7 separate regions of the Homo sapiens genome follow, and all the other regions are linked to region 7. The links are contacts of gene promoters, found by promoter capture Hi-C in blood cells and fetal thymus (Javierre and others, 2016). All regions are on one chromosome and are shown on one strand. The core of a region is centred on a gene start or on the middle of the fragment in contact, and the rest is flanking DNA. Distances in the headings are between cores, read along the strand shown.

Region 1 (2,700 bases), core at 178-2,677, 670 kb after region 7:
AATTCATTTATTACCTCTAATAGGTTTTTTGTGGATTCTTTACGATAGTCTATAAGGAATTTAGTTTTTCAGTTAGGCAGCTGGAGTTTGTTATTCAATATCTACAATTCTCTCACTACTTCTTTCAAAAGCAAATACAGAGTCTATTCAAAATGGTAAACTCAGTATTACTTCTTGATAAAAGCTTTACCAATGTAACTATAAATAAATAAAAGAGCTAGACATTTTCCCATTAATGCTTTAAAAATGTCCACTGGCTATTTGAAAAAGATTTATGAAAATTGTACTTTATGAAAATTGAAGTTGGTGAGATCACGTCTCTATTTAAAAATATTTTTAAATGAAAACTGAAGTAGATATTAGCTTGTTTCCTCATAAAATTTTACATACTTTTGACTTCCTATATTAGAAAATCATTAAGTCCTAAGAACTGATTTTATTTCTTTGAAACTATGACCAAGTGAAAACTCTATTTTAACATTTCTTTCACATTCTAAGGCTCTCTCAATCTCTCAAAAATCTCTTGTATTTTACTCTTAAATTACCTATTATTTGATGTTTTTGTGACAAGATCCAAGTTCTTTAAGTTTTAATGATAACAAAAATTGCTCACTTATCCCTTAAAATAAAATGTCAAAATCAACACTCTAAAATTGCAGTATTCAAAGGCATAGACAATAGAGTCTTGCATCCAAGTTGAAGAGAATATAATTTTTTAGGAGGAAAAAAGGGCTATTTTATAACTAAGATTTCATAAACTATATTATATATACATATATTTTTTCTAGCACCTTAGTAATTCTTGTTAAGTGAAAATCATATTAGATATAAATAACCCCAGCTTATTTTTAAACTCAGTACTTTATGTTCTGTATTAATTAAATGTACCCTTAAAAATAAGTTAAATACAGTCAAGGAAACTTTCAACCATTTCTTTCCCTTATTAACAATTCTAGCAATTAAAACCTTCTTCCAGGGCTGGGCACAGTGGTGCATGCCTATAGTCCCAGCTACTCTCAAGGTTGAGGTGGGAGGGCAGCTTGAGCCCAAGAATTCGGGGACAGCCTGGGCAATATGGTGAGACCCCATCTCTTAAAAAAACAAACAAAAAACAAACCCCTTCTCCCATAGGTTCCATTTTCTTTCTAGCCTTTTAATTTTTCTTCCCTGGACCTTGTTTGTTTTCTCATAAGATACTGAAGTCAGAACTGGATAAATTAGAATATAACTCCCCACTGAGTCTGCAGAAACCACAGAACTTCAGGTAGTTCACAAACAAAATAAATCAGTGGGGAAAAAATGATGCAGCATTTCTGATCTCCTAATTAACTAATTAATCAAACTTCCAGTGATTAAATACATTGATATGGATGCTGGTAAACATCATATACTTACCTAATTCAGAAGAGAATTTCAAGTGGCCTTCTTCTGGATCTTCAACACGACTGTCTATCACATCGTCAATTTTGTTTGCTTTGAACTGTGGCTCGAGCACTCGACTTGGGCCTCGAGTGAAACGGGGATAGAATTTTTTTGGAGATGGTCCGTGGGGCCCAGACCCCTTGACGGGCACATTCTTAAGTGGCTGAGTCACTTCACTGAAGTTGAAATAAACAAAAAGCAAAACTGTCCAGGTCGCAGATGTAAAAAGGCACCCATAACAGAAATACCGAACTGTGACACTTCCCATTATAGACCTAGCATAGCTGAAGGGCCATTGTCAATTTCCTAAAAAAGAAGAATAAATATGTTAGACACTTCAGTATACTTTAAACCATCCACCAAATACAGAATCACTGTTTTCCAAACCACCAAGTAGGACCACTATGCGTACAGTTAACGGATATTCAAATACAAGAAGATGTATGGATAGTACTGAGTTTTTAAAAAGGGTTCAACAATGAAAACCTCAGGCCTGTGGGTTAATGCTCAGAGAACCAACGGCAGTGAAATAGCTGACTGATTCATTTGCCCATGTTAATGGATACTTCTTCACCTTTGTTCTGGACTGCTTTCAGTTGCGTAATTTTTCTCATCAGGTTATAATTTTCACAAGGAAAATAACAAGTACCACATGTATCATAACAGGACAACTAAAGTCTCTTCCAACCAAAGAACTGCAAGATTCTTTTTTTAATCCAAGGATCTTAAAAATCTATTATTAAAAATAAGCAACTCTAAGCAACTCTGGCCAGGTGTGGTGGCTCATGATTGTAATCCCAGCACTTTGGGAGGCTGAGGTGGGCGGATCATTTGAGGTCAGAAGTTCGAGACCAGCCTGGCCAACCTGGTGAAACCTTGTGTCTATCAAAAATACAAAAATTAGCTGAGGGTTGTGGTGGGCGCCTATAATAATCCCAGCTACTTGGGAGGCTGAGGCTGCAGAACCTCTTGAACCCGGGAGGCGGAGGTTGTGGTGAGCCAAGATTGCACCACTGTACTCTGGCCTGGGCAACCGAGCAAGACTCTGTCTCAAAACAATAAAAATAAATAAATATAAACAACTTAAAAAAAATTCTACTTTCCAATCAAAGGTTATGCCTGCCCTAGTGTGCACTCTAAATCTAAGTTATTTTCAAATAAAGAGTTCAAGTAATTATATTCCCTCACCTATAAAACAAGGCAAGAAGAACTAAATGTAGCACTGAACAGCAATTTTTCCTAAGCTTTTTTTTTTTTTTTCCTTTTTAAGACAGAGTC
Region 2 (2,700 bases), core at 18-2,517, 820 kb after region 7:
ATGGAGTTGTAATCTTCCTTTGGTGGAGGGTTTTGCCTCGATGTTGGTGGCTGCTGACTGATCAGGGTGGTGGTTCCTGAAGGTTGGGGTGGCTGTGGAATTTCTTAAAATAAGACAGTAATGAAGTTTGCTGTATCCATCGACTCTTCTTTTTTAATTTTTTTCTACCCCTGCCCTTCCCCTGACTCTTCCTTTCACAAAAAGATTTTTCTGTAGCATGTGATGCTGTTTGATAGAATTTTACCCAGAGTAGAACTTCTTTGAAAATTGGAGTCAGTCCTTTCAGACCTTGCCACTGCTTTGTCAGCTAAGCTTATGTAATATTCTAAATGCTTTGTTGTCGTTTTAACAGTGTTCATAGCTTCTTCATCAAGAGTAGTTTCCATGTCAAGAAACCACGTTCTTTGCTCATCCAAAAGAAGCAACTCCTCATCCTTTCAAGTTTGATCATGAAATTGCAGTTCAGTCCCATCTTCTATTTCTCTTGCATTTCCACCACATCTGCAGTGACTTCCTCCACTAAAGTCTTCAACCCCTCAAGGTCATCCATGAAGACTGGAATCAACTTCTTCCAAACTCCTCTTAATGTTATTATTTTGATCTCCTCCCATGAATCACGAATGTTTCTAATGGCATTTAGAATGGTGAATCCTTTCCAGACGTTTTCAATTTTCCTTGCCCAGATCCATCAGAGGAATCACTATCTATGGCAGTTATAGCCTTATTAAATCTATTTCTTAAATAATAAGACTTGAAAGTAGAAATTAGTCCTTGATCCATGGGCAGAGAATGGTGATCGTGTTAGCAGGCAGGGACACGACATTTATCTCCTAGCACATCTCCCTCAGAGCTTATAGGTGACCAAGTGCATTGTCAATGAGCAGTAATATTTTGAAAGGAATCTTTTCTTCTGAGCAGTAGGTCTCAACGGCGGGCTTAAAATATTCAGTAAACCATGCTGTAAGCAGTTGTGTAGTCATTCAGGCTTTGTTGTTCCATTTCTAGAGCACAGGCAGAATAGATTCAGCATAATTCTTAAGGACGCTAAGATTTTCAGAATGGCAAGTGAGCACTGGCTTCAGCTTAAAGACACCAGCTGCATCAGCCCCTAGCAAGAGAGTCAGCCTATCCTTTGAAGCTTTGAAGCCAGACATTGATGTCTTCTCTCTAGCTATGAAAAGTCTTAGATGGCATCTTCTTCCAATAGAAGACTGTTTAGTCTACATTGAAAATTTGTTGTTTAGTGCTCCTGTCTTCATCAATGATCTTAATTAACTAGATCTTCTGGAAAACTTGTTGCAGCTTCTCCATCAACACTTGTTGCTTCATCTTACACTTTTTTATGGAGCTGGCTTCGCTCTTTAAATCTCATGAACCAATGAGGTTCAAAAGCTTCAAACTTCCTTCTGCAGCTTCCTCACCTCTCTCAGCCTTCAGAGTGGAAGAGAGTTAGGACCTTTCTCTGGATTCGGCTTTGGCCTAAGAGAATGCTGTGGCTGCTTTGATCTTCTATCCAGACCACTCAAACTTTCTCTGTATCAGCAATAAGGCAGTCTCACTTTCTTATCATTTGTGTGTTCCCTGGAGTAGCAGTTTTAATTTCCTTTAAGTACTTTTTTTTTGAGATGGAGTCTTGCTCTGTTACCCAGGCTGTAGTGCAGTGGCATGATCTTAGTTCACTGCGGCCTCCACCTGCCAGGTTCAAGTGATTCTTCTGCCTCAGCCTCCCAAGTAGCTGGGATTACAGGTGCACACCATGCACACCACCACGCCCGGCTAATTTTTGTATTTTTAGTAGAGATGGGGTTTCATCATGTTGGCCAGGCTGGTCTTGAACTCCTGACCTCAAGTAAGCCGCCCGCCTCAGCCTCCCAAAATGCTGGGATTACAGGCGTGAGCCACCGTGCCTGGCCAAGAACATTTTCTTTGCACTCACAATTTGGTTAACTGTTTGGCACAAGATGCCTAGCTTGGGGCCTATCTCAGCTTTCGACATGCCTTCCTCACTTAGCTTAATTACTTCTACCTTTTGATTTAAAGTCAGAGGCCTGTGACTCTCCTTTTCACTTGAACACTTAGAGGCCATTGCAGGGTTATTAATTGTCCTAATTTCAATCCCCAGGGAACAGGGATGCACAAGATGAGGGAGACAGACAGAGGAATGGCCAGCTGGTGGACCAATTAGAACACATACAACATTTATCAATTAAGTTCACTGTCTTATATGGGACCCCCAAAACAACTACAGTAGTAACATCAAAGACCACTGATCACAGATCATCACAATGATATAATAATGAAAAAGTTTTAGATACTGCAAGAATTACCAAAATATGACACAGAGACATAAACTGAGCATGTGCTGTTGGAAAAATGACACCAACAGACTTGCTCAAAGCAGGGCTGCCACAAACCTTCTATTTGTAAGAAATGCAACATCTGGGAAGTGCCATAAAGCCAAGCATGTTGAATAAAAGCCTGAATTAACTTTGTCAGTGGGCCACTAGTTGACCAGAAATTTTTCATTCTGATGTACTAAAAATCATCTTCCTTTTTTTTTTTGCTTACAGCTTGTGTTTTGAAATTTTAAGAGGTCCTTCCCCACCCTTGGATCGCAAGGAAGTGTGTCATCACCATATTCTGTTAACTTATCATTTTACTGTTCATATTCGGTATTGGCTTCATTTTGAATAGTCCTAT
Region 3 (2,700 bases), core at 190-2,689, 680 kb after region 7:
CTGTTATACATAATTATTAATAGTAGTATTAGTTAAAGGGTTTTCGCTTGCATCCTACACATACTCTTTCCTGTGTCAGCTATGCCATTCATCCGTGAGAGTCATTCTTCCCAGTCGGCAAGGGAGACAGAGTAGGAGCTACCTATAAACCATGGCTGAGTGGTGCCAGTGAGGGGCTCTGCCCCCTGACTGCCCATTATGCTGAAATTCCTGCATTATAAACTAATCCTTTGGGTCTGGAAAGCTTGCCTTTTATTTAAGATGTTCTTATCTCTCAGTCTTCAATCAAAACAGAAGTTGCATCCTTTTTGTCCAATCAAAATTTTTGGAACTCTAGCACATAAATTATTTTGTAAATGTGATTAAAAAAAACATGTAATTCATCACTTGTTAGAAAAACACTTACTCTCAGCAGAATTCTGAAAACCACTGCTAAAATTAGAAAGGAGGAGGGGAAGGAAGCTCAATCTAAGGAAAATGAATTTGCATATTACTTAGAAGTGGAAAACTTTAAGAATCACCTTATGCTATATTAAGAATCTCTTAATTCTGTGGATTGTCATCTTTCATGGGGTTTCAAAAATCTTTGCCATTATTTATTCAAATATTCCTTCCGGCCGGGCGCAGTGGCTCATGCCTATCATCCCAGCACTTTGGGAGGCCGAGGCGGGTGGATCATCTGAGGTCGGGGGTTCAAGACCAGCCTGACCAACATGGAGAAACCCTGTCTCTATTAAAAATACAAAATTTGCTGGGCATGGTGGCATACGCCTGTAATCCCAGATACTCAGGAGGCTGAGGCAGAAGAATCACTTGGATTTGGGGTAAGCCGATACTGTACCATTGCACTCCAGCCTGCGCAACAAGAGTGAAACTCTGTCTAAAAAAAACAAACACAAAAACAAATATTCCTTCTACCCCCCTCCCTCTTCTCCTTCTAGGATTCAAATCACGTATGTCAGACTTTCTCAGGATGGAGTATATTTCTTACAGCTTCTTCAGTGTTGTCCAGCCTTCCCCCCTCACGCTTCATTCAGAGAGGTTTCTTCTGATCTCTCGGGGGCTCACTTTTCTCTTCAGCAGTATCTAATCTGCTGAATCCACTGAATCCTCCATTTTGGCTACTGTATTTTTTAGATCTAGTATTTAGTTGTTTTTCAGGTCTGCTTTGCCCCCTTATATTAAGTTTCCAGTTCCTTGTTGAAATGTTTTTATTCAACTTTTATCTCCATGAACATAATAAACATATGCTTTAGCGTCTGTCTGGTAATTCCACTGTCTGCAAAGCCTGTTTCTATCCTCTGTTATCTGTGCGGGTTCTTGTTAAGGTAGTCTCCCAGTGGGCCTGGTTACACTGACTTGGTGGTATGGTGGACACTATTTGAAAAATCATTTCAGAAATAATTTGAGGCGTGAGATGTTATCTTCCTCTGGAGAGGATTTTCATCTGTCTCTGTTAGGTGACTGGGGTCACCAGCAATTTGAGATCACCCTAATCCATTTCACCATTTGAGATTTACTAAACCCCCAGGTGACCCCATGGAGCTTCAGTCCAGGCAAAGGCTGGCACACTCCCAGCCCATGAGTGTTCTGGATGGCAGCCTCTCAAGGTTTCAACATTAACCCCAGGTGGCTCACCAGGATTCTTACCCACAGCAAGTTCTAGACTCCAGTTTTTGTTTCTGTCCTCCTGTGAGTCAGTTAACTACACTGCTCAGCCTCTCACCTGCTCTTCCAGAACAGCAAATAGCCGGGCAAAAGCGGCCCTGGGTCAGAGGCTCACGTCTCTGGTTTTCTATCATCTCCCAAATCTTAACCCAGTAATTCTTTACTATGTTGTAAATTCCTTGATGCTTTTCAGAAAAGTATCAGCTGGCTTTAACTAGGTTACTCAGGCCATTATCGGAAGCACAAGGCCAGGGCTATTTTCTAAACAGTTGTTTTGGCATTTCAAAGAGTGCAGGCTAGGTACTGCCAAAAAGAACATCAGCAAATCAAACTGTGACAGAATCTTGGGCCTTTTTTTTGAGACAAGGTCTCACTGTCACCCAGGCTGGGGTGTGGTGGTTATGATCATAGATTACTGTAGCCTCCAACTCCTGGGCTCAAGCGATCCTCACCTCATCCACCCAAAGTATTGGGATTATAGGCATGAGCCACCATGCCCAGCTATGGGCCTTTTTCAGAAAACTTTTTTCCTCCATACATCGTGAACTGTATAGAAAATTAATTTCTGAGAATCTACCACCTCAACAGGTTTAGAAAGCTGACAGACTTAATCAATCTGGCAAATCACCAGATCCTAGCTCATGCTGTTAACCAAGCCCAGTAAATAAACATCGCAGTTACTGTTGTTTGCAGGTCCCCTTGAGCATTACTATCCCGCACAGTGTTCTGAATTCCAACTGCCAGTACCTGTATCTCTGGCTTCTGAAGCCCATCTGCCCACGTGCAGGGCAGGCCCAAACTACAGGGGAATGTGTACCTACCTGAGGGCAGTCCTCACAATATACTGATAAGAAGACTCCAGCTTCCTTAAATCCAGCCTCCCTCCAAACCCCCAGTGGAAAAATCACAACTCTGACATACGTATGCTACACTGGCTCTAGAATTCCTCAGCACAATCAAGCTTCATTTGTCCACAGCGGGACCTGGCTTGAAAACATGCCCTTTATTGGCTGTCTTTCCTAGACGGCGCAC
Region 4 (2,700 bases), core at 129-2,628, 970 kb after region 7:
TATCGGTCACTGCCGACCATCTGTGGTCTTTGGGCTGAGTTCGACTGGCAGGACTTTGCCCTGCTGCCCACCAGCGCCCACCCCCAGCGCTGGGCTCTCTCCTTCCACCTCGTGTTGCACCCTCTCCACACGCCTTTTTCTCTCTTTCCACTTTTCCTTTCCTCTCTTTAGCTCCTCGCCGTCCCTCCTGCACTGGTGAATTTCCCTCCCATTAGGAAACTAGTGTCTCGAGGAGGTTGTTGACTGTGTAGGGTCAGGTGGCCAGAAAGAGTGTGGGGTGGGGTGGGGGGCTCTGGAGAGGGAGCCACAGCATCAGGTGAGGGTCGAGGTGGCCGTGGCAGGGCGCAGAGGTCCAGGCTGCTTGCAGGTTTCTCCTGCAGCCAGGAAGTAAGGGTGGGTGGAGGCCTGGTAGGGGACGTGCTTCCTGGCATTCTGCCACCCACAGACCCCTCCGGCAGGTGACAGCAGACAGAGCTAGTGATCTGGGGGCTACGTACAGGGTCTGGGATGGGTTCTGGGTGCCGGCTAGCCTGGGATGAAGGCAGGAGTTCCCATGCTGGAAAAAGCAAATCTCCTCTTTAAGCATTTGAATTACACACAACTGAATCAAATTGGTGTCGGCCTGTGGGGCTCCACTGGTGCCAGTGCCCTCCCCACCCTGCCCTGAACAAGCAACCTTATTAGCAGCTCTCGTGGCCCATCCAGCAAAGACTGCCAGGGAATGGCCTTGAGCTTCTGGGCCAGCAGAGAGTGGAGTGGCAGGAAGGGGCCACCAACCCCGTGCAAGGCTGTGGGACCAGCCCCGCGGGCACTGGGTCGTCTTCCTCCTGTTTGACTCTGCAAAACCCTTCTTTCCAGTGAAAACCTTGCACGGAAGATCTGAGAGTGTGGGAGAGACACAGGGGCCACAGCCAGGCCCTGGCCCCAGCTTCCTCTCTGGCAGCTGCATGACAAATGGCCCCATAGGCAGAGCTCTGCTCCGCAGACGGCTGAATGCCTGCTCTCCATTAGCTCTGCGGAGCCAGGCACACACTTGGGAGTCTTGTCAATACCCGGGGAATCATCCGGTTGCATTCACCAACATATCATTTGGCTATAGCTTGCCCAAGAGCAAGGCCTGAGGCCCTGTCCCTGGTGGCTTCAGCTGGCGCCTGTTATCTGCACCGCCACGCAGCCCACCCCAGCAGGCCTGTCCCTCCGCCTGGCTTTCCCACCGTCTGGGAGTGTGATCTGGCCCCCAAGGTTCCCGGTGAGAGGGGTCAGACAGGGCCCAGCATCCAGCATGCTTCGGCCATTTTCCAGAGACAGGACTGGCAGGGCTGCTTCCTAGGGCTCCCTCCTCAGGCCTGATCCCTGGATGCCCGACTCCACTGGCCTGGATTCAGAATACAGAATGGAACCCCATTCAGGATAATCCTGGGGTCCCCCTTGCTCATCAAATATGGTTAAACTGGCCTTTCATGACTGGTTCTCCAGGGGCTCATGGCTCAACTTCCCCCGTGACCCCCACCCTCATGGTGGCCCAAGTGAATGGCCGGCCCTCTGTCTCTGTGCTTCAAACCCCTTCTCCTCTGTCTCTGGGCACTGGACACCTCCCCGGCCCTGTCACTGCGTCTCTGAAGCCTAGCCAGCTGTCAGGGCCTCCTCTGGGTCAGGGCCTCTGTTAAGGGGCAGGTTTCAGCTCCGGGCCATTTATCCATCTGCATGGTGCTTATGGTGCTTCGGCCTTGTGGGCACTCTGCAAGCTCTCCTGGGGCCCCGCTCCCCTATGTGTCTCTGTTTCCCTGTAGGACTGGACATTTGCATTGGCTCGGCCCTCTCCCCCGGCTCCCCAGCAAGCTCCCTATGCTGTAAACAGAGCACGTCCATGCACCAGGTCCGGGCTCACCTTTCCAGCAGCTCCAAAATCCCACCCCTCCCTCCGGTCCTCCCATGTGGCCTCGGCTCCTCTTCCGGTTCACACCCTCGAGGCTGCTGTCGTGATTGTCTCAGCCCTGGGAACGAGGCTTGGACAACCAAGTCGTTGTCCACATTGCGGGAAACTGAGCTGTGACCAAACCCGGGCCTCCACCCAGGACCAGCTTATGTCACCTTGTGATAGGACCACCCTGGTGCCTGTGTGTGTTGTTCCTACTGGCTTCTCTCAGCCCCCATCCCACCCTAGACCTGCACACACAGCACCCACCACTTGAAGAAGAACCTCTTTTTTTTTTTTTTTTTTTTTTTTTTTGAGACAGGGTCTTGCTCTGTACCCAAGCTGGCTGGAGTACAGTAGTGTCACCTTGCTCACTGCAACCTCCACCTCCATCTCTGGGGCTCAAGTGATCCTCCCACCTCAGCTGCTTGAGTAGCTGGGACTACAGGCCACCACACCTGGCTAATTTCTGTATTTTTTGTAGAGACAGGGTTTTGCCATGTTGCCCAGGCTGGTCGAGCTCAGGTGATCCACCCACCTCGGCCTCCCAAAGTGCTGGGATTACAGGTGTGAGACACCACCCCCTGCCTGAAGACTCTCTTGTTTGTAAATTTATTCTCAGGATTTGTCCTGATTCCCATAGTTAGGTGGAATAGTGGCTAACTGGGATATTCTATAAACAGAGAATCTAAATGCTTTTCATATTAAATGGTCAAAAAAAAAAAATCAGCTGGGCATGGACAACTGTAATCCCAGCTACTCAGGAGGCTGAGGTAGGAGGATTG
Region 5 (2,700 bases), core at 61-2,560, 990 kb after region 7:
CTCCCACACAGTAGCAGACCCCACTGTCTTCAGGTGTCTGTGAACTTGCAGTCCTCTGACACCTTTTTCTTGAAACACACTAGTGCCTGGGCATAGGTCATCCCCAGTCCCCCTTTCTAAAGTGGCCTGAGCCAGTGTTCCAAATCAGGGTGATAGCTGGTCTCAGCACTCTGCTTTTACTCTCTCCTGGGACTTATCCACGATCTGGGCGCCTCGCCTTTGGTTTTCTCCTTTTTAGTGAGATGAACATGTCTGTTGTTACTGAGTACAGGTTGTTGAGTGAACTGTGTTTGAGCTTCACTTCCCACCAACCTCCCACCTACCATTGTTGACTCCAAAATGTCTCCTTTTGACAAGACTCTTCCTGTAAGTTTCTCCCCCACCTCACTTCTTCCCCGTTCCTACCATCATTTAAAGGAAATAGATTTTGATAAATGGGCTTTACTGCTGTAAGTGAAGTTGGAAGAACAAAGGTTTCAGATCTGCAGCCCAGCCGAGTCCTCGTGCAGCGCATATGTGAGAAGTTACAGTGACACCTCTGTGTCCTTTGGGAGATTTTGGCATGGGCTGAGTGTTCTTTTGGTCCATTGTGTTCCCATTCACACAGTGTCACAGATAAAGGAGATGAATTGAGTCTGAAATTGCTGTTTATTACAGTTCCTGGAGATACTATAATACCTGAGTAGGATCTGCACACAATAGCCACTCAAAACCATTATCAGATGAATCACCTGTCAACGTTAGGAAGGTCCCCAATCCAGACACATGATGCCATCATCAGCATCAGGTTAGTGGGTCAGGAGTGCCAGGGGTCACACAGGAATGAAAATCAAGTTATCAGGCCAGGGCTAATTGGGGAATTAGACAAGATGAAGAATTTATTTCAGGTGCAATTAGATAGAGTTTTAAAATACACTGTAGGATTTCATTTAATCCTATAGTAACTGTTAAGGGTTGTATGATGTTCCCGGCAAAAATGGTTTGTGGAAGTCCTGACCCCCAGGACCTCAGAATGTGACCTGACTTGGAAATAGGGTCATGGCAGGTGTAATTATTTAAGATGAGGTCATTCATGTGGGCCCTCAGTCCAGAATGACTGGTGTCCTTAAAAGAAGGCCCAGTGATGACGGAGACCCAGGGAGCTGGTGGAGCTGAGACGGGGATGCCCTGGTGCCTGTGATCCCTGAAGCTGCAGGGCAGAAAGGGCTCCCCCAGGTTTCAGATGGTGATATGGTTTGGCTTCTTGTTACCACCCGAATCTCCTGTTGAATTGTAATCCCCACATGTTGGAGGAGGGGCCTGGTGGGAGGTGATTGAATCGTAGGGGCAGACTTCCCATTGCTATTCTGGCGATAGTGAATGAGTTCTCACGAGATCTGGTTGTTGAAAAGTGTGTAGCACTTCCCCTTCACTCTTTCCTTCCTGATGCCATGTAAGACGTGCCTGCTTCCTCTTCACCTTCTGCCATGATTGTAAGTTTCCTGAGGCCTCCCCAGCCATGCTTCCTGTAGAGCCTACAGAACTGTGAGTCAATTAAACTTTTTTTCTGCATAAGTTACCCAGTTTCAGGTAGTTCCTTCTAGCAGTGTGAGAACGGACTAATACAGATGGACTGCGGGCTCACACACACCTTGACTTAGGCTCCCAGCCTCCAGAACTGTGAAGGGATAAATCCCATTGCTTAAGCCCCCCTGGCCATAGACAGCAGCCAGAGAACAGACACAGCAAATGTCCAGGAAAGCTATGGCCACACAGCAGACAGGATGCTCGGCCTCTCAGCCATGATCTTCTGTTGTTTTCAGTGAGGCAGAGGGCAGGTGTGTTACCTTGGAGTCCCCACTGCAGCCTCCCCATGCTTCACAGATGGGGAAGGAGTCCCTGTCTCTCTACAACCTTGAGGCCTTACCCCCACCTGCTGGCCCTGCCCCCACGTCCTGGGACCAAACCCTGACCATCCTGACACTGCCCCCACCTCCTGGCTCTGCCCCTGACCCACTTGCTCCTGGGAGCATGGTTGGGTGGGAGGCAGGACAGTGTGAATAGGTCATGAGGTCTCCGGGCTTCTGGTAGGACTCATGAACTAAGGAGTTGACAGCACTCGTGGTGTAGCCATCGCAGTCCTGGGATGCCTCTAGGCACTTCCCCGCTCTCCCTGGGTCGTCTGACAGGTGGAGAGCTCTTGGCACTGGGGGTGGACAGTCAGAAAGTACTGGGCGGGGGTAGCAGGTCCCTAGGCCCTCAGCTCAGGTGTCAGCAAATCAGAGCTGGAGTTGAGTGTTTGTTAGCTTAAAGGACAAATAGCAAAATGAAAAAGCATCCAAGGAAGGGCGCCAACCTCTGGGTCTCTGGACAGCCTTTCTCCCTTCTGGAGCGCTGGTCTCTCCATCACTCTCCTGGGCTGGGCTGCGCTCTGGCTTTGGCCCAGGGCAGTGGCCTGAAGTGTCCCCTGTGGCCATTAGAGCTGTGATTGCAGATCTGTCAAAGCGGCTGCTGCACAGATGTTTCCATCACCACTTTTATTATGTCATTCCCTTGCTAGAGACTTCAGAAAACTCAAACTGCTTGCCAGATCAGGGCCAACCTCACCCCCCAATTCACACCCCGTCCACCTGCGCAAACACTGCCTCCCTCCTCTGCCAGGCTGTCTGCCCGTCCCAGCCCTGTCTAACTTGGTTTTAACTTCATTTGTGCCCCTCTCCA
Region 6 (2,700 bases), core at 109-2,608, 880 kb after region 7:
ATCAGCTGCATATCACTGGAATGGATGGTATCAGTGGTGCAGGCAAACCAGAGCTTCAGACAGACCCTCTCATGTAAGTGAACAGTCAGATTTGCATTGCAATGTACGAACTTTGAGGCCAATATCATTACCAAAATAATTTTATTTGCTTGGGAAATTATTACAATTAATTTGCATTACTTAATCATGTGCCCATAGATGGGTGAGAGGTCAGAAACCAGTCAAGAGCCATATTCAGGTAATAGTAGTATTCAGATTTCCCAAGGTTAATCAGGATGTTTATTGCATGTTGAGAGCTCATAACTAAGTCAAGAACCAACACACACAGACCTTTAGTCAAATTCTGCAGCCCAGGGAGACCAAATCTTCCACCCCAGTGGGAGGTAATGCCGGATCACTAGGATAAAAGTCACATGGGACACTCTGCAAAACAATTATAAAGGCAGCTGTTAGCAGAACCAAAGACTTTATTCCCAACTAATGCTGTTTACATGACGGCTACCCTTAGTCAGGAAGGGGGCATCATTGCTGGGGATTCCCTATTCTATTATTTAGCAAACAGACACCTCCTCACTGCACAGCGCTTGTGGATACACATGCCCTGTTTGGTGAATCTGTCATTCTGTAGAACTGCTGAGTGTGTGCTTAGGTACAGAGCTGGCCAAGACACGAAGCTATTCTCTAGAGAGAAGATATGCACAGCAAATCTGTCGTTTGGGAGAACATTGCTACAGGGTTCACCTTTACCTTAATCCAAAGTACTTCTTGGATTTCACGATGAGGACTTCCTTATGGTTGACTGGCATCATGGATGAAGAGCTACCTGGAGCACTGACCAAGGAGGTGGCTGGCACAGGTGCCCGGGAAAATAAAATGGACCCAGAAAGGGGCAGTCAGGCAGTCAGGAGATGTGTTGTCCCAAAGCAGTGTTCCTGCTGGTCCTGGGCCCCTGCCTCCACTTCTCTGCGTGGATTGATACTAATGACTCCATTTGTACCAGGGAGCAAAAGCCATCACAAGGTTACACAACCATTGCCCAAGCTTAAAGGAAATAAAAACTGGAATGTGACTATTTGCCCTGTTTTTCACAATTAGATAACACCCCCTTAGCTTGGTATTCAATAAGTTATCAAAGCATTTACAGAGTCCTGAGCCCAGAACTTGCTGTTTAGTTTTTCTAAGAGTTGTAAAATTGAGCTGTTGTTGTCTTCCTGCATATACAGACCATTGCTCTCTCCATTTGTGTCACAGGCAAATAGACCAAGGCAGCTAAGATGTTCTTAGTTGGTCTCTCTTAGACGGTCCAAGGTTATCCCAAAGGCATTTCCTAAAGAGTCTTCAGCAAAGTTCTTAAAAGCAGAGGGGCCACATATTTTATGTTTTCCTAGAGGGCACAGCCAATTAATACTCACGGGCAGAAGTGAAATGAATGCCAGCGGATTCCAGCAACTAGGTTTCTGTTCCCTTCATCTGTAAAGTGGATGTGATCGTTCTCTTCAGGGATTTTAGTGGAAATTAGGGTGAGATAGTTAATATGAAGTACCTAACATGGTGCCTGGCATGTTATTAGTGATCAAAAAGTTCCTTTCTTCTTTGCAATGTGGAATCCACTGTCACTGAGGTTGGGAACTCATCAGACACAGACATCCATCTCCTGATTACAGAGGAAGCTTCTAACTGCTACATTCTAAGCACCCAGAGTAAGCTTGGACTTCAAACCCATGAGGACACCCCCAATTCTAAGACTGTCTATACTATATAAAGATGACTCATGGTTTTCAAAGTCATTTTTATTTATATGGAATAACAGGCCAAATTAAAAAAAAAAAAAAGCATGGGTGGGCGTAAGGGAACACGTAAGTTTGGAAAACCAGATTAAGTGAAATTAAATAGCCAGTGTCCCCTTCATAAGCTCTGATCAAGGATTTCCTTTACGTTAACTCTCCTACTGTGGGTATTTCACTTCTCAGCGGGTTGTAGGCCCTGGACCTGGGTGCAGCATTTTAAATTATCACCTCTGAATGAAATGTTGCCTGGCTGGGGAAGAGGTGGCTCACCCTGGCAGGCCAGTGTGTTGACCAGGATCCCTGAGAGCTGACAGCATTCAGAAATGGGTACCCCAAGTATTTGCAGGTGATGTTGGTCTAGGATACTAATATAGTGGGACAGCAACGACACAAACACATGTGTGGTATAAAATGTGCCAATCATATCTGCTCCCCCATTCAATGTGCTAACATGTGTATGAGCCCTTGGCACTGTCACATAATAGAAGCTGCATGTTTTTAACCCTCATGCTCACCAGCCTGGGCCAATGATGCCCCCAACGGGAAGCAGCCTCAGTGATAGGGTTTGGCTGTGTCCCCACCCAAATCTCATCTTGAATTGTAGCTCCCATAATTCCCATGTGTTGTGGGAGGAATCATGGGGGTGGGTCTTTCCCATGCTGTTCTCGTGATAGTGAATAAGTCTCACGAGATCTGATGGTTTTATAAATGGGAGTTCCCCTGCACACTCTCTCTTTCCTGCTGTCATGTAAGACGTGTCTTTCCTTCTCCTTGCTTTTCACCATGATTGTGAGGCCTCCCCAGCCATGTGGAACTGTGAGTCAATTAAACCTCTTTCCTTTATAAATTACCCAGTCTAAGGTATGTCTTTACTAGCAGCATGGGAACAGACTGATACACTCAATATGCCCCT
Region 7 (2,700 bases), core at 59-2,558:
AGGAGATGGACTGTAGCAAACTAAAGAAGGCACCCCCACAAGGTTGTCAAGGAAACCAAACCAAGTGCATTTTTCTATAGAAAAGAATCAAGGGTAAGGTGAACATGCCATGTTACATTTTGTGGCAAAAATGATTAAAATCCCTTCTTGAAAAAAATCGCTAAGAGACCAAATTTACTTCCAGGCTATTTTACTAAGCACTACACCCATAACGCAGGCAGGCAAGCTTGTATTCCCAAACTACCAGCTACATGGATTCAGCAATCACCTTACTACAACCAGCTAACTTGGGTCACCGATACTTCAGGGCATTTCCTAAGATCTCTTTTTAATAGCTTAACGGCAACGAAAGAAGTGGTCACACTCAAAAAGTTAAAAACAAAAACCTCTACCACAATTCCACAAACATGCTCTCCCAAATTTAGGGTATTTTTCAAAATGGAGTCTTTTTAAACACATCATTTTTCAGCGAAAAGGCAAATCTATGCAAACCAAAGGGACAGCTTGGCCTGAGTGTGCCATTTCATACTGGAAAAGCGCAGGGAGGGCAGTAAAAATGGTATCAAGTTGGGAGATCGATGCTATTCTCTCCACAAGTAGGTGGTAAAGAATCCTCAGCCAGGAGGAATGACACGCACACGCGGGGACAGAACGAGGGCCAGTGCTGAGAACGCTGGAAGGCAGGGACACCGTTCACTAGGAGATGAGTGACGTTAAAGGATCTGCAGTGATGATCTGTGCCTCACGCTGGCGAATATTCCTAGGAGGGGAGATCCCGCGCTCCCGGTGTCCCTCAGGGTGTCCACCCCGGCGACGGCCGGAGCCGGGCTGCGGGTCCAGGGGCCCGGCCACGTGGGCGGGGGAGGCGAGGAGCGCCGGGCTCGCTCAGAGTGGGCACCGCGTCCCTACCCTCCGTGCTTTTCCTCTTGTGGCCCTTCCCGGCAGGGAAGAGGGGGTTTTACGACGTCAAGGCAAGGCTTGGAGGGAAGCGGCGGCCGGCGCCCCACCTGCCCAGGTGATCGCGGGGCTCAAGCCCGGGGCGACGGACGCAGCTCGACCTCCAGGCGAGGTGGACGCCAGGGGCCGGGAGCGGGGCCGCGGAGGAGCGGGGGTGGGCGCCGAGCTGCTCTTACCCGGTGCCACAGTCCACCACGCAGGGAGGCAGGGAGCCTGCCATGCTCGGGACGCGCGGCGCTCGGCCCCGCCGGCAGCCCGAGAGCGCCCCGTCGCCGTCCGCTCCGCCGCCCGCTAGCCCCGCGCGCAGCGTCTCCCGCGAGCCGCCGCAGCGCCGCTGCCGGGAGCCCGGATGCTCGGCGGCCGACACGTGACGTCACTCCCCGGTCGGCCAATCAGAACGCGCGCACGCCCCGCCTCCCCCAACACCCCCACCCCCACTCCGGCGCGCCATCTTTAGTGCTGGCAGCGAGGCTTCTTGGCCCCATACGTCCAACCTTGCTGCTGGAGAGATTGGGGTTTATTTTTAACTGACTTACATGAACGTGACCCCATTTCCGAGGCCTGGCGCCTTTCTCCTCCTGTAAGTCTTCGCTCGAATGTCACCTTGCGAGGGAAGTTGTTCCTGATCACCCTGACTATGTCCCCTACCGGTACTGTATCCTCTGTCTCAACAATCTGTTGGTTTCATTCCTAACCCTTAAAGCAAAGTGTTTATATTTTTATATTTATGTATTTGTTGTCTGCCTCCCCTACTGGACTATCAAATCTTCTAGGATAGGGCTTGAGTCTGTCTTAATCACTATTGATGAGCAGCAGGTGCTTAGCACAGTATTTGGTGTACCTGTGGAAGTGCCCAAATGTTTGTTGAATGACTGAGTAACCTTCCCCATATAATAAAAAAAAAAAAAAAAATTAGTTGGAATTGGCCGGGCGCGGTGGCTCACGCCTGTAATCCCAGCACTTTGGGAGGCTGAGGGTGGATCACAAGGTCAGGAGTTCCAGACCAGCCTGGCCAACATGGTGAAACCCCTTCTCTACTGAAAATACAAAAATTAGCCGGGCGTGGTGGCGGGTGCCTGTAATCCCAGCTGCTCCGGAGGCTGAGGCAGGAGAATCGCTTGAACCTGGGAGGCGGAGGTTGCAGTGAGCCAAGATCGCGCCATTGCACTCCAGCCTGGACAACAGGGCGAGAGTCTGTCTCAAAAAAACAACAAAAAAAATTAGTTGGAATTATTATACCTAACACGGCCTAAATTTTTCTAAGAAGAAAAATCTGCAAAACAAATGCTTGGCCAGCCTTAAGGAATGAATGGCCTTAGACTGAGTAAACCACACCAAGATCACTCCTGGAAAATGTTTTCAAGTGTCGAAGATGGGATGATCGCCCAAAAGTTCTTACTGAAACCAAAGAAGGCAAACACCACCTACTATATTATAAAGGTACTGAGAGTCCCACTTGCCACTTGCTTCCTGCTTCTTGCCCGATCGTAAATTCTTGATACTAATTTTTTAGGAGCTTTCTGGAAACATGTATTTTTTTGTTTTGTTTTGTTTTTTGAGATGAGTCTCACTCTGTCGCCCAGGCTGGAGTGCAGTGGCGCAATCTCGGCTCACTGCAACTCCGCCTCCCAGGTTCAAGCAATTCTCCTGCCTCAGCCTCCCAAGTAGCTGGGATTACAGGCACCCACTACCATGCCCGGTTAATTTTTTGTATTTTTAGTAGAGACAGGGTTTCATCATGCT

What was found. Contacts are between HindIII fragments. The CHiCAGO score rates a contact against its expected background, and 5 or more counts as called.
Region 1: a fragment that was not itself captured here is called in contact with the fragment with the promoter of ACTR3B in region 7 in 4 of 17 cell types (M2 macrophages, erythroblasts, monocytes and 1 more); the score reaches 6.4 in M2 macrophages.
Region 2: a contact is called between a fragment that was not itself captured here and the fragment with the promoter of ACTR3B in region 7, in 1 of 17 cell types (total B cells). The highest score is 6.6, in total B cells.
Region 3: a fragment that was not itself captured here is called in contact with the fragment with the promoter of ACTR3B in region 7 in 2 of 17 cell types (erythroblasts and megakaryocytes); the score reaches 7.1 in erythroblasts.
Region 4: a contact is called between a fragment that was not itself captured here and the fragment with the promoter of ACTR3B in region 7, in 1 of 17 cell types (naive CD8 T cells). The highest score is 5.2, in naive CD8 T cells.
Region 5: a fragment that was not itself captured here is called in contact with the fragment with the promoter of ACTR3B in region 7 in 1 of 17 cell types (non-activated CD4 T cells); the score reaches 5.3 in non-activated CD4 T cells.
Region 6: a contact is called between a fragment that was not itself captured here and the fragment with the promoter of ACTR3B in region 7, in 5 of 17 cell types (total CD8 T cells, total CD4 T cells, activated CD4 T cells and 2 more). The highest score is 7.1, in total CD8 T cells.

The regions. Positions count from the first base shown.
Region 1 is chr7:152,093,218-152,095,917 of GRCh38, reverse strand. GALNT11 (polypeptide N-acetylgalactosaminyltransferase 11) reads right to left here. Exons shown (of 12, transcript NM_022087.4): 2 at 1,396-1,728. The coding sequence starts at 1,690. Among named protein-coding and RNA genes, the nearest start is that of GALNT11, 69 kb to the right of the region's middle. The HindIII fragment of the contact is 2,482 bases long and covers 187-2,668 here.
Region 2 is chr7:151,937,357-151,940,056 of GRCh38, reverse strand. No RefSeq gene overlaps it. Among named protein-coding and RNA genes, the nearest start is that of GALNTL5, 18 kb to the left of the region's middle. The HindIII fragment of the contact is 254 bases long and covers 1,141-1,394 here.
Region 3 is chr7:152,076,416-152,079,115 of GRCh38, reverse strand. All of the region lies in intron 1 of GALNT11 (polypeptide N-acetylgalactosaminyltransferase 11), which reads right to left. Among named protein-coding and RNA genes, the nearest start is that of GALNT11, 52 kb to the right of the region's middle. The HindIII fragment of the contact is 2,385 bases long and covers 247-2,631 here.
Region 4 is chr7:151,783,443-151,786,142 of GRCh38, reverse strand. All of the region lies in intron 2 of PRKAG2 (protein kinase AMP-activated non-catalytic subunit gamma 2), which reads left to right. Among named protein-coding and RNA genes, the nearest start is that of PRKAG2-AS2, 22 kb to the left of the region's middle. RefSeq lists enhancers at 447-1,336, 1,337-2,226. The HindIII fragment of the contact is 7,939 bases long and covers 1-2,700 here.
Region 5 is chr7:151,764,007-151,766,706 of GRCh38, reverse strand. The region is part of intron 3 of PRKAG2 (protein kinase AMP-activated non-catalytic subunit gamma 2); the gene reads left to right. Among named protein-coding and RNA genes, the nearest start is that of PRKAG2-AS2, 41 kb to the left of the region's middle. The HindIII fragment of the contact is 5,984 bases long and covers 1-2,700 here.
Region 6 is chr7:151,881,236-151,883,935 of GRCh38, reverse strand. No RefSeq gene overlaps it. Among named protein-coding and RNA genes, the nearest start is that of PRKAG2, 5.5 kb to the right of the region's middle. The HindIII fragment of the contact is 629 bases long and covers 1,044-1,672 here.
Region 7 is chr7:152,758,360-152,761,059 of GRCh38, reverse strand. It overlaps ACTR3B (actin related protein 3B), which reads right to left and starts at 1,308. Exons shown (of 12, transcript NM_020445.6): 1 at 1,134-1,308. The coding sequence starts at 1,177. RefSeq lists enhancers at 457-506, 1,507-1,666 and silencers at 682-976, 737-1,256. The HindIII fragment of the contact is 7,028 bases long and covers 229-2,700 here.